Linked DNA regions of Homo sapiens: region 1 is linked to region 2. Evidence: promoter capture Hi-C in 16 types of primary human blood cells and fetal thymus (Javierre and others, 2016). All regions are on one chromosome and are shown on one strand. The core of a region is centred on a gene start or on the middle of the fragment in contact, and the rest is flanking DNA. Distances in the headings are between cores, read along the strand shown.

The links. Contacts are between HindIII fragments. The CHiCAGO score rates a contact against its expected background, and 5 or more counts as called.
Region 1: a fragment that was not itself captured here is called in contact with the fragment with the promoter of TXNDC15 in region 2 in 1 of 17 cell types (total CD8 T cells); the score reaches 6.0 in total CD8 T cells.

Annotation. Positions count from the first base shown.
Region 1 is chr5:133,020,930-133,027,609 of GRCh38, reverse strand. It overlaps ZCCHC10 (zinc finger CCHC-type containing 10), which reads left to right and starts at 1,061. Exons shown (of 5, transcript NM_001300816.3): 1 at 1,061-1,113; 2 at 4,704-4,769. The coding sequence starts at 1,073. RefSeq lists a silencer at 782-911 and an enhancer at 992-1,301. The HindIII fragment of the contact is 251 bases long and covers 2,407-2,657 here.
Region 2 is chr5:134,873,057-134,879,520 of GRCh38, reverse strand. It overlaps TXNDC15 (thioredoxin domain containing 15), which reads right to left and starts at 5,150. Exons shown (of 5, transcript NM_024715.4): 1 at 4,991-5,150. The coding sequence starts at 5,093. It overlaps LOC124901071 (a long non-coding RNA gene), which reads left to right and starts at 4,123. Exons shown (of 2, transcript XR_007058943.1): 1 at 4,123-4,277; 2 at 4,389-4,690. RefSeq lists enhancers at 2,045-2,104, 4,515-4,584, 4,478-5,183, 5,115-5,404, 5,425-5,474 and a silencer at 4,765-4,874. The HindIII fragment of the contact is 3,704 bases long and covers 2,327-6,030 here.

The DNA of each region.
Region 1 (6,680 bases), core at 1,283-3,782, 1.8 Mb after region 2:
TCCTAAAACATTTTAAGTGTTAATTATTAATTGAAAAAATATGGCTGGGCGCGGTGGCTCACGCCTGTAATCCCAGCACTTTAGGAGGCCGAGGCGGGCGGATTATGAGGTCAGGAGATCGAGACCATCCTGGCCAACATGGTGAAACCCTGTCTCTAGTAAAAATACAAAAATTAGCTGGGCATGGTGGCGCGTGCTTGTCATCCCAGCTATTCGGGAGTGTGAGACAAGAGAATCTCTTGAACCAGGGACCCAGAGGTTGCACTGAGCCGAGATCGCGCCACTGCACTCCAGCCTGGCGACACAGCGAGACTCTGTCTCAAATTAAAAAAAAAAGGAAAAAATATGGATGACCCAGAAACACACACACACTTCAGAAAATTATATATATTTCAGAGAACGTGGGTTTTAAGAGAATAATAGCTCCGTGAGCTGACATTAGATGTAGGTGCAGCTAAAATATTCTAAAATATTTGTATAGTCCTTTTCTGCTTGATAAAGCAGCTTTAGTTATACAGTCCCATTTAGTACTCGTAACAACGCTGTGAAATACATAAAAAACAGAAATAACGTATATGTTTGCACTCCATGGCTTGCTAAAGTCATTCTTTCAATTGATGGTCTCAATCCTGGTCAACTAATTCCTTTCTATTCTCCAGACTACTTCTAGTTTTCTGAACACCAAAGTTTCATTCTTTGTCTTTGTATGTGTATCCCTCGTTCGAGAATGTTGTCCTCATTTTCCACAGATAATGTTCTTGCCTGTAATCATCCTTTGAAACCCTGTTCGGCCCGAGAACCCGAGACCCATACTGGAGACACCGGCCCCTCCCGACCCACCAGTCCCTCCCGTCCCGACCCTCCAGCCCCTCCAGCCCCTCCCCTCCCGACCCTCCAGCCCCTCCCCTCCCGACCCTCCAGCCCCTCCCCTCCCGACCCACCAGCCGGCACTAAGATACCTCCCCTTAGAAGCCTGTCTGGCCCCGCCTACGTCTACGGCCTCCCGGTTGGAAGCCCCGCCCTTCCGAGGAGTTTCCCAAAACCCTGCGCGGCCGGCTTTGACCGCGCTAAGATGGCGACTCCCATGCATCGGCTAATAGCCCGGAGACAAGCGTAAGTAAGGATCCGGTTCGGGTCCACTGGAGGGCTGGGAGCGGGGAAACGCGCGTCAACGGGCTGGTGTCGGACCCCTATTGGGACCGGCGGAGAATGTCCGTTTCTCAAACACTCTTCTGGCTCCCGGGGGGCTCGGGCCCGGGCGATAAGTCTGGTGACCGGGGGTTAGCGATTTCGCGGAAGACAGCCGCGTAAAGTCTGCGGCACGGGACAGAGCGGGGTTTGAAGACAACTGTCGCGTTTGGTTTCTCTGAAAGGAACGCCCACAGTTGGTCACTCAGTGATTTATGCCCCTCCGCCAACCCCACGCGTGGACAGGGGAGCCCTGAAGCCCCGGTCCGACACCTTTATTCCAGCCGACGTAAACCTTCAGTTTCCTATTCAGTGTCCAGCCCAGCTGCCTTTTCCTACTTCCTTATTCTAGCGCCTTCCTTAGGAACACCCTGCCTTCAATGCCGATTGCTTTCCCAGGCTATCTTACCACCTTTTGCTACTCATTCTCTCTTTCAATAAATATTAATTTATTTAGTTCCTACCGTTCTGTGCCAGACATTGGGTATAAATAGAGGTGTTCAAGACAAAATCCTTGCTTTCAGAGAGCTTACATTCTAGTGATGGAAACAGTCGATAAACCACAAATTGTAAATACAGCTGGTGATAACAGCTTTGAAGGAAGTAAGCTGTTGTGATGGAAAGAGGGAAAGGCCCACTTTAGGTTGGTTGGACTGGAAAGGCATCTCTGAAGAGGTGGAATTTGAACAGAGATTTAAAGGATGAAAAAGGAACAGTCATACGAGGATTTTGAGAAAGAGCATCCGGATAGTGGCATAATTGCTTTGAGCCTGAAACTTACTTTTTACAGAACTGAAAGATAGCCATTACGCCTAATGAACAAGAGAGAGTGGCAGAAGAGATTCATAGCTGACAAATAATGCAAGGGTCACCCCAGATGCCCCTTTCTTTTTTTTTTTTTTTTTTTTTTTTTTTTTTGAGGCGGAGTCTTGCTCTGTCTCCCAGGCTGGAGTGCAGAGGTGCAATCTTGGCTCACTGCAAGCTCCGCCCCCCGGGTTCACGCCGTTCCCCTGCCTCAGCCTCCCGAGTAGCTGGGACTACAGGCGCCCGCCACCATGCCCGGCTGGTTTTTTGTATTTTTAGTAGAGATGGGGTTTCACCGTGTTAGCCAGGATGGTCTCGATCCCCTGACCTCGAGATCCGCCCGCCTTGGCCTCCCAAAGTGCTGGGATTACAGGCGTGAGCTACCGCGCGCGGCAACCCCTTTCTTATAAAGCTTTTTTTTCCAACAGCCTTTGCACATCCAGACATCTGCCTCTTTTTCATAAATATTTCATGCCATCTCCATTTTCATGTCTATATGTAGCTCAGAGTCTGCTAGTATATGTATGTGTGTTTATCTGTATATCTTTTTATATTTTTTAATTCAAATAATCCCTTTTTCTTCTCCTTTCCATCTACCCTTTCAGGCCTGATAAGAAGAGTTCCTCAAATGTACAGACAGACTTAGGGAGTTAGAGTAGTAAGCTTGGTGAAGGAAGAAGGCTCGAAGTCAGACAGGTTTTTTTTGTTTTTTTTTTAGACGGAGTCTCACTCTGTTGCCCAGGCTGGAATGCAGTGGTGCGATCTTGGCTCACTGCAACCTCTGCCTCCCTGGTTCAAATGATTCTCCTGCCTCAGCCTCCCGACTAGCTGGGACTACAGGCGTCCGCCACCATGCCCTGCTAATTTTTGTATTTTTTAGTAGAGACGGGGTTTCACCATGTTGGTCAGGCTGGTCTCGAACTCCTGATGTCAAGTGATCTGCCCACCTTAGCTTCCCAAAGTACTGGGATTACAGGCATGAGCCACTGCGCCCACCATTAAGTCAGACAATTCTGAGATCAAAAATGGGATGGTGATACTTAAAGGGAGTGCTAAATGATGTCACCAGGATCCCATTTCTCCCTGTCTGTCTCTCATGCTTGCTCTTTCGTTGTTGGCTCCATATTTGGATAGGCTCTATTCTTTGCTCCCAAGATGGCTGCAGTATCCAGGGTCCTATCTATTCTCTCAGCTTCAAGTTGATTGCAGTTCTTTGGTCTAGATTGGATTACATGCCCAGTGCTAAACCATGCCTGTGGGATTGTGAAGCTCTGATTGATTTAGAGATCTTATTCTCCTTTCAGTACAATTGAATGGATGACCATAAGCCAATGATAACCAGGGTGGATAGGTCAGAGGAGTTAAATGAATGCAGGATTGGCAAAACCAATGTCCACTTTAAATATGAAGTGAAAATAAGACTTAGCATCTGAATAATACTGCTATTTCTTGTTTCAGAAGTATCAAAAGTTAAACAAATTTTTATATCTACAATATGTCTGTATTTGGTACATGAGTTACATGATTTGTAAAAGACAAATCTTACCTTTAAGGAGCTTCTGGTCTTGTTGGGAAGCAAACATGTGGCATATTATAAAAAGTGTTGTGGTATACAGAGTGTAAGTCTCCAAGGGATTCAGCAAAGGAGGGCCTTTAGAGGCTTGCGAAGTCCAAGAGAATTTGGGGGGAAAGCAGGAGAGGAGCCTTTACTTTTCATTTTATATTCATCAAAAAGGTTTAATTTTATTTACAAGGAGCATATATTACTTACATAACAACAAATTTAAAATAGTTTTTAAGTTAGTAATGAGAAATGAGAAAGCACTATCATCAATTTTTTTTTTTTGAGATGGAGTTTTGCTCTTGTTGCCCAGGCTGGAGTGCAGTGGCATGATCTTGGCTCACCGCAACCTCCACCTCCCAGGTTCAAGTGATTCTCCTGCCTCAGCCTCCTTTAGCTGGGATTACAGGCATGTGCTACCCGCCTGGCTAATTTTGTATTTTTAGTAGAGACGGGGTTTCTCCATGTTGGTCAGGCTGGTCTCGAACTTCTGACCTCAGGTAATCTGCCCACTTCAGCCTCCCAAAGTGCTGGGATTACAGGTGTGAGCCACCGCACCTGGCTTTATCGTTCTTTAAAAAAAAAAAAAAAAAAAGGTCTTTGGACTAATAGAAGAAGACGGGGAAAAAAGTCTAAATACGAACTCCTCATTCAGTAGATCTTTCGGAGACTTAACTAGTCAGTCTACTAAATCAATTGGAATGAAATAATTGATTTAATTATTTTTACCTTGTAAACTGTACTTACATCTACCTATATTAAGTAAATTATGGAGTCTAGGCATTATTTGGGGTCATTTCTTCTATTAAACCTTATATGAGATTCCACTACTCCTTCTTCAACATCCAGAGTCGTCATCAAACTTGGCTTGAAGACTTCCAGTAATGTGTACTTACCTCCTGAAGTGGCCTGTTGTGTTTTCAAATCTATCTAAAAGTTTATGTTGAGCTGAAAAACAATAATATTTATAAAGTTAAACCCCATTTCTTTCTTACTCCCTTGTTTTTGAACCTTGCTATGATTTCAGTCAGTTAAAAAACCTTGTTTTCTACCTGAATTGTCATCAAGTCAGACCTCCCCTGCCTTGTATTGATTTTCTGGACTTAAGTGTCAGACTTACCTTTGTCCTTGTTAAATTTCATCTTGTTAGATTCGACACAGAGTTGCAGCCTGTCAAGACCTTTTGGATCCTGATTCAGCCATCCATCGTTATTAGGTATCCCTCTCAGCTTTGTGTCAACTGCAGGTTTGATAAATATGTACATTTGTGTCCTCATACAAGGCATTTATAAAAATGTTGAACAAGGCCGGGGCGTGGTGGCTCATGCCTGTAATCCCAGCACTTTGGGAGGCTGAGGCAGGTGGATCACAAGGTCAAGAGATCGAGACCATCCTGGCCAACATGTTGAAACCCCATCTCTACAAAAATTACAAAAATTAGCTGGATGTGGTGGCATGCGCCTGTAGTCCCAACTACTCGGGAGGCTAGGCAGGAGAATTGCTTGAACCCGGGAGACGGAGGTTGCAGTGAGCCGAGATCTCGCCACTGCAGTCCAGCCTGGCGACAGACCGAGAGTCTGTCTCAAAAAAAAAAAAAAAGTTGAACAATACCAAACCATGCAGGCCATAACTGGATCTCTCTCTATATTGTCATGCACCACATAACAGATCCCATATATTAATTCTATGGTTGTCCCATAAGATTATAATGGAGCTAAAAAAATTTCTGTTGCCTAGTGACATCTTGATGATCCTGACCCTGTGTAGACCTAGGCTAATGTGTGTGTGTCTTAGTTTTTTACAAAAAAGTTTAAAAAGAAAAATAAATTTTAATAGAAAACAGCTTATAGAATGAAGATATAAAGAAAGAAAAAATTTTTGTACAGCTATAAATGTGTTTGTGTGTTAATGGTTATTACAAAAGAGTCAAAAAGTTTTAAACATTTATAAGTTATAAAGTAGGCCGGGTGCGGTGGCTCATGCCTGTAATCCCAGCACTTTGGGTGGCCCATGGTGGGTGGATGACCTGAGGTCCAGAGTTCAAGACCAGCTTGATCAACATGGTGAAACCCCATATCTACTAAAAATACAAAAAATTAGCCAGGTGTCGTGGCGGGCACCTGTAATTCCAGCTACTTGGGAGGCTGAGGCAGGAGAATCACTATAACCTGGGAGGCGGAGGTTGCAGTGAGCCGAGATCACACCATTGCACTCCAGCCTGGGTGACAGAGCAAGACTCTGTTTCAAAAAAAAAAAAGTTATAAAGTAAAATTGTAGTAAGCTAAGATTAATTTATTATTGAAATTTAAAAAAATTATAAATTTAGGGCAGCCTAATGTACAGTATTTATAAAGTCTATGGTAGTGTCATGATTACTGTAGCTTCATAATAAGTCTTGAATCCACGTGTTAGTCCTCTGATTTTGCTCTTTTTCAGAGTTATTTTGACTATTTTAGATTGTATTTCCAGATAAATTTTAAATTAGCTTACCAAAAGCTGCTGCGATTTCAGCTGGGATTGCATTGAGTGTACAGATCAACCTATGGAGAATTGACATCCTAACAGTATTGAGTTTTCTGATCCGTGCTTATGTATATCTCGCCATTTATTTAGGTCATCTTTAATTTCTCTTAGCAGTGTTTTGTAGTTTTCAGAGGTCTTGCACATCTTTTGTCAGATTTGTCCCTAAGTATTGTAATAGTGTTTTTTAAAAATTTTAGTTTCAAAAGGCTGGGCGCAGTAGCTCACGCCTGTAATCCCAGCACTTTGGGAGGCTGAGGTGGGCGGATCACAAGGTCAGGAGATCGAGACCATCCTGGCTAACACGGTGAAACCCTGTCTCTACTAAAAATACAAAAATTAGGCCGTGCGCGGTGGCTCACGCCTGTAATCCAGCACTTTGGGAGGCCGAGGCGGGCGGATCACGAGGTCAAAAGATCAAGACTATCCTGGCTAACACAGTGAAACCCCATCTCTACTAAAAATACAAAAAATTAGCCGGGCATGGTGGCGGGTGCCTGTAGTCCCAGCTACTCAGTAGGCTGAGGCAGGAGAATAGCGTGAAGCCGAGAGGCAGAGCTTGCAGTAAGCCGAGATTGCACCACTGCACTCCAGCCTGGGCGACAGA
Region 2 (6,464 bases), core at 3,901-6,400:
TCAGCCACAAGACAAAGCAGGAAATGAAGCCAGAGAGGCTAAGAGTCTGGAAAAGAAAGGATGCCAGGTTTGGGGTCCAACCCAACTCCCAAACACCACAGTTCTTCAGAGATTTGCTCTTGCTACCTAATCAACATTCTAGATTCCACAAGTAAATGAAGAATGCCAAAACGAAGAACCTCAGGATAAAAAAATCAGGGCACAAATTTTAATCTGGTTCTCTCTGATGACCCTCAGATAGCCCCTGCACAAAATCAAAAGGGAATGTAAGTGGTGCATGGAGCTGGTATTTTAAGTTCAAGAGTGTTGTCCCCTCCATCCCCCTGCACATTGTAAAAATATTTAAGTACACAGTACAGATTAGGAACAAAAAAATCTTATGCCTTCAGGTACCAACGTTTTCATTTAGGAATTAGGAAGAAAAGAAACACTGAATTATTCCACACGAAAATAAAAATGTCATACTATGTGACAGTCATTGAACCCTCCCTTGGTAATGTGCTTTTATTTTTTATTTTCTTTGAGACAGAGTCTTGCTCTGTTGTCCGGGCTGGAGTGCAGTGGCACGATCTCAGCTCACTGCAGCCTCCATCTCCTGGGTTCAAGCAATTCTCCTGCCTTAGCCTCCCAAATAGCTGGGATTACAGATGCGCACCACCACACCTGGCTACTTTTTTTATTTTTAGTAGAGATGGGGTTTCACCATGTTGGCCAGGCTGGTCTCAAACTTCTGGCCTCAAATGATCCAGCCACCTCGGCCTCCCAGTGTGCTGGGATTACAGGCGTGAGCCACTGCACCCGACTGGTAATGTGCCTTTTAAGAGACTGCAGTTTGAGCTATACATAAAGTGATAATTATTGCATCACTGGCAGCAAAGAAGTTGTCTGAAGGACAAGTGTGAGGGCACCATGCCAATTCTGCCAGGGAGCCCTAGCCTAGGTCAGCACCTTCACACCCTTCCAGCTTTTCTCAGAAGGCTCTTTACCAGCTGCAGGTGTTTTCACAATGGCTTCTGGCAGGAAAGGCAAATGAGGAGGGACCAAAAACAGTCAAGGGTTGGAGGGACAGCAATCCATACTTTCCATAGGCAATACTGTGTGCTCATTTAGCAAATGGAGACAATACCACCAAAATGTAGAAAATTATGAGGCTACTGTGAAGATTAAATGAGAAAAGATGTGTATGGTCCCTGCCACAGGTTAAACACTCCATAAATGGCTGTGGTGATGATGATGATTATGATGAGTGGTGTTTACAATTCAAAGAGATGGAAAGGCACAATAACTAAGTTCTATTAATTAACCTGCACACTGGGCTTGCTGGTTCATACCTGTAATCCTAACACTTTGGGAGGCCAAGGCAGGCAGATTACTTGAGGTCAGGAATTCAAGACCAGCCTGGCCAACATGGTGAAACCCCATCTCTACTAAAAAATACAAAAATTAGGCCAGGCGCAGTGGCTCACGCCTGTAATCCCAGCACTTTGGGAGGTCAAGGCGGGCAGATCACCTGAGGTCAGGAGTTCGAGACCAGCCTGGCCAACATGGCGAAACCCCATCTCTACTAAAAATACCAAAAATTAGCCGGGGTGTAGTGACGGGTGCCTGTAATCCCAGCTACTCAGGAAGCTGAGACAAGAGAATCGCTTGAACCCGGGAGGCAGAGGTTGCAATGAGCCAAGATCGCACCATTGCTCCAGCCTGAGCAACAAGAGCAAAACTCCATCTCAAAAAAAAAAAAAAAAATTAGCCAGGCATGGTGGCGCATGCCTGTAATCCCAGCTACTCGGGAGGCTGAGGCAGGAGAATCATTTGAACCCAGGAGGTGGAGGTTGCAGTGAGCCAAGATGGTGCCACTGCACTCCAGCCTGGGTGACAAGAGCAAGACTCCTTCTCAAAAAGAAAAAAAAAAATTTCACCTGCTAAACACATTCACAATCCATCTACTTTCCCCATCCCAACTAACACTTCTCAGCAAAGGCCACAGCCAATTCTTGTCTGGGCAACTACTGTAGCCACCTAAACTGGTCTCCCTGGTCAGCCTGCTATCCCCCCTCCAGACCCTGACCTTCACAGCAATACAAGTGAAACTGAAAGATAAAAGGCATATCTGATCATGTCACTCCCCTGCTAAAACTCTTTCAGTGGCTTCCCCTACCCTGTGAATGCATCTGCATTCTGTAGCAGAGCTACCAGGCCCCAATGTGGCCTCTGTCTGCACTCTCACCTGTGGCCATCAGATCCCTCTAGTCCCTGATCATTTACACTCCTCCTATCCCCACCTGCCTTAGAGCCTTCCTGAGGGCTGTTTCTCTGCTGGGAAGCTTCCTCCTGCCAAATCCTTCATCCTCCTCATTCAGATCTCACCCTAAATGTCACCTCTGTAAGGACACATTCCCTGACCCTCAGACCAGGGTGGGAGGTCTCCCATTACAGTTCCCAAAAACGCCCTGGGACTCTCCTTGATGCATTTCTCAGTCTTGCAATTTTCTTAGTAATTTGTAGTTATTTAGTGGCTGCCTTCCCCAAAGGCCTGCTGCTCTAACTCACCACTGGATCCCCAGTGCTCAGCACAGTGTTTAGCATATGATGAGTGCTCAGTAAGAATTTGCTAGCTGACTGCCTAGGGAAGAGTGGCATAGGGGTATTGAAGCCAGGAGTTTGCTTCCATTCCTAGACACCTGGATAGCATTGCTACCTCCAGGTTGCTTAGTCTCTCAGGGCCTCAGCACCTGAGGCCAGCATAATCTGCCAGTGGCATCCTCTGCAGAAAAAAAAAAAAAAAAAACACCTCAGATTTTCAGCTACTCTGAGAAGAAATCAGCTGGTGAAGTTTCTTCTGTCTTCACCCCATTCATGGCCTGGCCATGATGACCAAAGACCCAAGCTGAACCCTGAATCAGCCAGGGTTCTGCCAGGAAACAGCACATTTAACTTGGGCAAGTTGAGGAGAGTTTAATGAAGGGACCACTAATGTGTAGGCTGGGTGCAGAGAAATGAAAAGCAATGGTAAGGAATTCCAAGGCCAGTAACAGTAGAGGAGGAGCCAGTTACCACTCATAGACCTTAAGAGTCTGGAGAGAGAAGTAGTCACAGAACCTTGAAACATCAAGGGTAACACAGAGGGCAGCTTTCTAGAATTCAATGCTTTCCACCGGGGGCAAAGCCAGCCTTCAATAACTTCTCAGGGAGGGAGCGGAGAGAATCAATACCCTGACCTCACTCTCCCCTCATTCCAACACAATGGAAGCAAGACGGTAGGACAGCTGGTATTTATTCCACACAGGACAGCCACACAGGGCACAGAGCACGGTGGAGGGGCTGAAACAGAAGATATCCAACCCATGCCATCCCCTCTGTGAGGCTAGCAGTTAAGTATAGTGAAAATGCAGAGGTTGGGCTCTGAAGTCAGGCAGACATGGGCTTGAATCAAGGCTCCTCAACTTCTGGCTGTATGACCTTGTCAAAGGACTTATTGGCTCTGAGTCTTAAGTTACTTCTATAAAATGAGCATGATAACATCTACTGCATATGCATTTAAAAATTACTAAGGCCAGGCACGGTGGCTCAAGCCTGTAATCCCAGCACTCTGGGAGGCCGAGGTGGGTGGATCACCTGAGGTCAGGAGTTCCAGACCAGCGTGGCCAACATGGTGGACCATCATCTCTACTAAAAATACAAAAATTAGCCCAGTGTGGTGGCAGGCACCTGTAATCCCAGCTACTCAGGAGGCTGAGGCACGAGAATCGCTTGAACCCGGGAGTCAGAGGTTGCAGTGAGCCAAGATCGCGCCACTGCACTCCAGCCTGGGCAACAGAGCGAGACTCCATCTCAAAAAAAAATAAAAATAAAAATTACATAAACCGGGAGCAGTGGCTCACATCTGTAATCCCAGCACTTTGGGAAACAGGTGGGAGGATCACTTAAGCCCAGGAGTTCAAGGCTGCAGGGAGCCATGATGGGCCACTGCACTCCCGCCTGGGCAACAGAGCAAGCCCTCATCCCTTAAAAAAACAAAAACAAAACAGTAAAGATTCCAAAAGATGATGCTCGTAAAGCACTGAGCACAGCATCTGGTACACAGTGAGCGCTTTCATTCATGGTAATTGTGTTACTATGACTCACCCTTCTCCACAACTCTCTGCTGTCCTGCCTCCATCCAGGACACCCCAGGGAAAAGAAAGACCTGCCTATTCCTGTTAAGGTCTAAATGACAAGCGAGACCGAGGGTCTGGACTTTAACAGGACTATGAGGAGTGGGGTGAAGGAGCATGAAAGTAAGGCCTCCACTCTCCACCCTCGCCATGCCTCTAGAGTGGCTGCCTTCCCTACCGGCAAGTTGGGGGTTACCGGGAGTCTCCCGTGTTTCTCGTCTGTTTTTCATGCAGGGAGCTGAGCAAGACTGGCCTCCTTAAGACAGTGGTCCAGCAGCGTGGACTCCAGACTGGGCTTTGGCGTCAGAGAGACAGGCTTCTGCCACGTATCAGAAGCGCAAACTTAGGCGGGGCCTGAGCATCTTCATCTGTGAAATGGAGACACTAAACGGAACCGATCTGACAGGGTTTGTGGGAGCATTAAATGGGATAATGATGTAAATAAAGCACGATGCACAGTTCCTGGCTCCTAATACGGCCACAACAATGTCGGTATTTGATATAATGTTATTAATAATAAATTGCTTATCACCAGAGGGTATGCCTCAGCAGCGCTTACCGCACTGTCCCTCCTGGCTACCAGCCACGGGCTGAGGGCGGCCTGAACGCGGCCCAACCACCCCCGGGCTCCCGTCCACCGGCCCTCAGCCCACCGGCCCCCTTTCGCGGGCCACCAGCGGGCGGTGCGCGGGGAGAGAAGTCGGGGAGACGCGCCCGGGGAGACGCCAAGAAGGGGCGAGTCGCGCACCGCCGGCCTTCGCGCAGGTCCAGAGCGTCGCCCGGGTGGACCTCAGCTCGCCCCATCATCTCATGCACCGCCCCCGGCCCACACTCACCCTCCACGCCGCGGACGGGAAGTCCCAGCACCCACAGCAATACTTGCCACCAGCCGAGGAGCCGCATGACGCGGGGCGGTCGTCGACCGGCAGCCGGGACCATTGCCCAGGCCGAGAGGCAATCGGCGCACGGCTACGCGAGTCGTGCTGCCAGCCGGAGGAAGGCTGGGGGAGGAGAGCCTGGGAGCGCGGGCGCGGCCCCGCGCCGCCATCTTAACACCTGGCAGCTGTGGCGGGCGCCATCTTGGAGTCGGGCGGACGGCCTCTAGCCGCTGGCCGTCGGCGCTGGACTGGAGACCTCTTTAGGAGCTAAGCGCCAGACGTTGCAGGTCGTTTTGAACTCTGCTGACCCCAGAGTGCAGAGCATGGCTCTGGCAGAGGCCCATGGCCTCCTTTCTTCCCTCGGAAGTCAGAGCTTGGCTACTTGAAGCACTGCGCCCGCCTAAGGAGGGTTTTCCACGCTTCATTCCCAGAGCCAGAAAGGCCCAGGAGCCTTCCTGTTCTAGTGTCCCATCGAGGTGCAGAAACTTTGGAGGCTGCAAATCTTCTAATCGCTTGCCTAACCTGTGCTCCCCTACCTAGGGTTGCCACATAGAATACCTGATACCCAGTTATATTTGAATTTCACATAATGAATATTTTTTACTATAACCCTTATAGTATAAGGGATATACCTTAAAACTGAGCATCCTGTAACTTCGTGACATCTGGCAACCCTAACCCTACCTATCCACTCAGGGCAGGAGAGGTTGGTTTTAACTGATTTACCTTGCAGGGCAATCTCTTTTTAATCATGGTTGGGGCCGTGAGCATCATTGGCTCTGGCTCATGGTGGAGGTGGAGCCACCTCGAGCATAAAGTAGATAGGAAAGGGCTTAGAATGAAGAAAGCATAGATGGGGAGATGAGGAACAGGGCTCTGCATTCCCAAGCAAACGCACAGAGCGGGAGTCTTAAGAGAAAATTCTTGGAATAGAGAGGATGACACCACTAATTGGGGTATTTTGCCGGGGGGCCTGCTAAAATGGAATAAGGCAAGCTTTAAGCAGCCACCAGTCAGTGCTAAATCAGTGCAGAGTGCAGCTTTTCAAACTTATGAGGTTGAAAAAATAGAAACTGATTTAAAATACATCAGTCTATTGGTTAACATAGCAATGGTAAGGGGAACCTGTGCTTTTTGGCCGCTTGGTGAATCCCAACTTCAGCACATGTGATAGTTCACAGTCAGCAGGTTATGTAACTTAAAGTTAAGTTTCTTCAGCTGTAAAGTGGAAATGACGTTATATAGAGTCTTATAGATGAAATGAGATGTAAAGTGATGAGCACAGTGTCCTGGGGCACAGGAAGCATTTCAAAGTGGTAGGCATTATTAATTGAATAATACAATTCTGATGGTGTGGCCATAGTCCCCTTATCTCTATGCCCATCAAAAAGACACTGTTAGGCCAGAAAGATGCATCATTAATCTGTCCCTG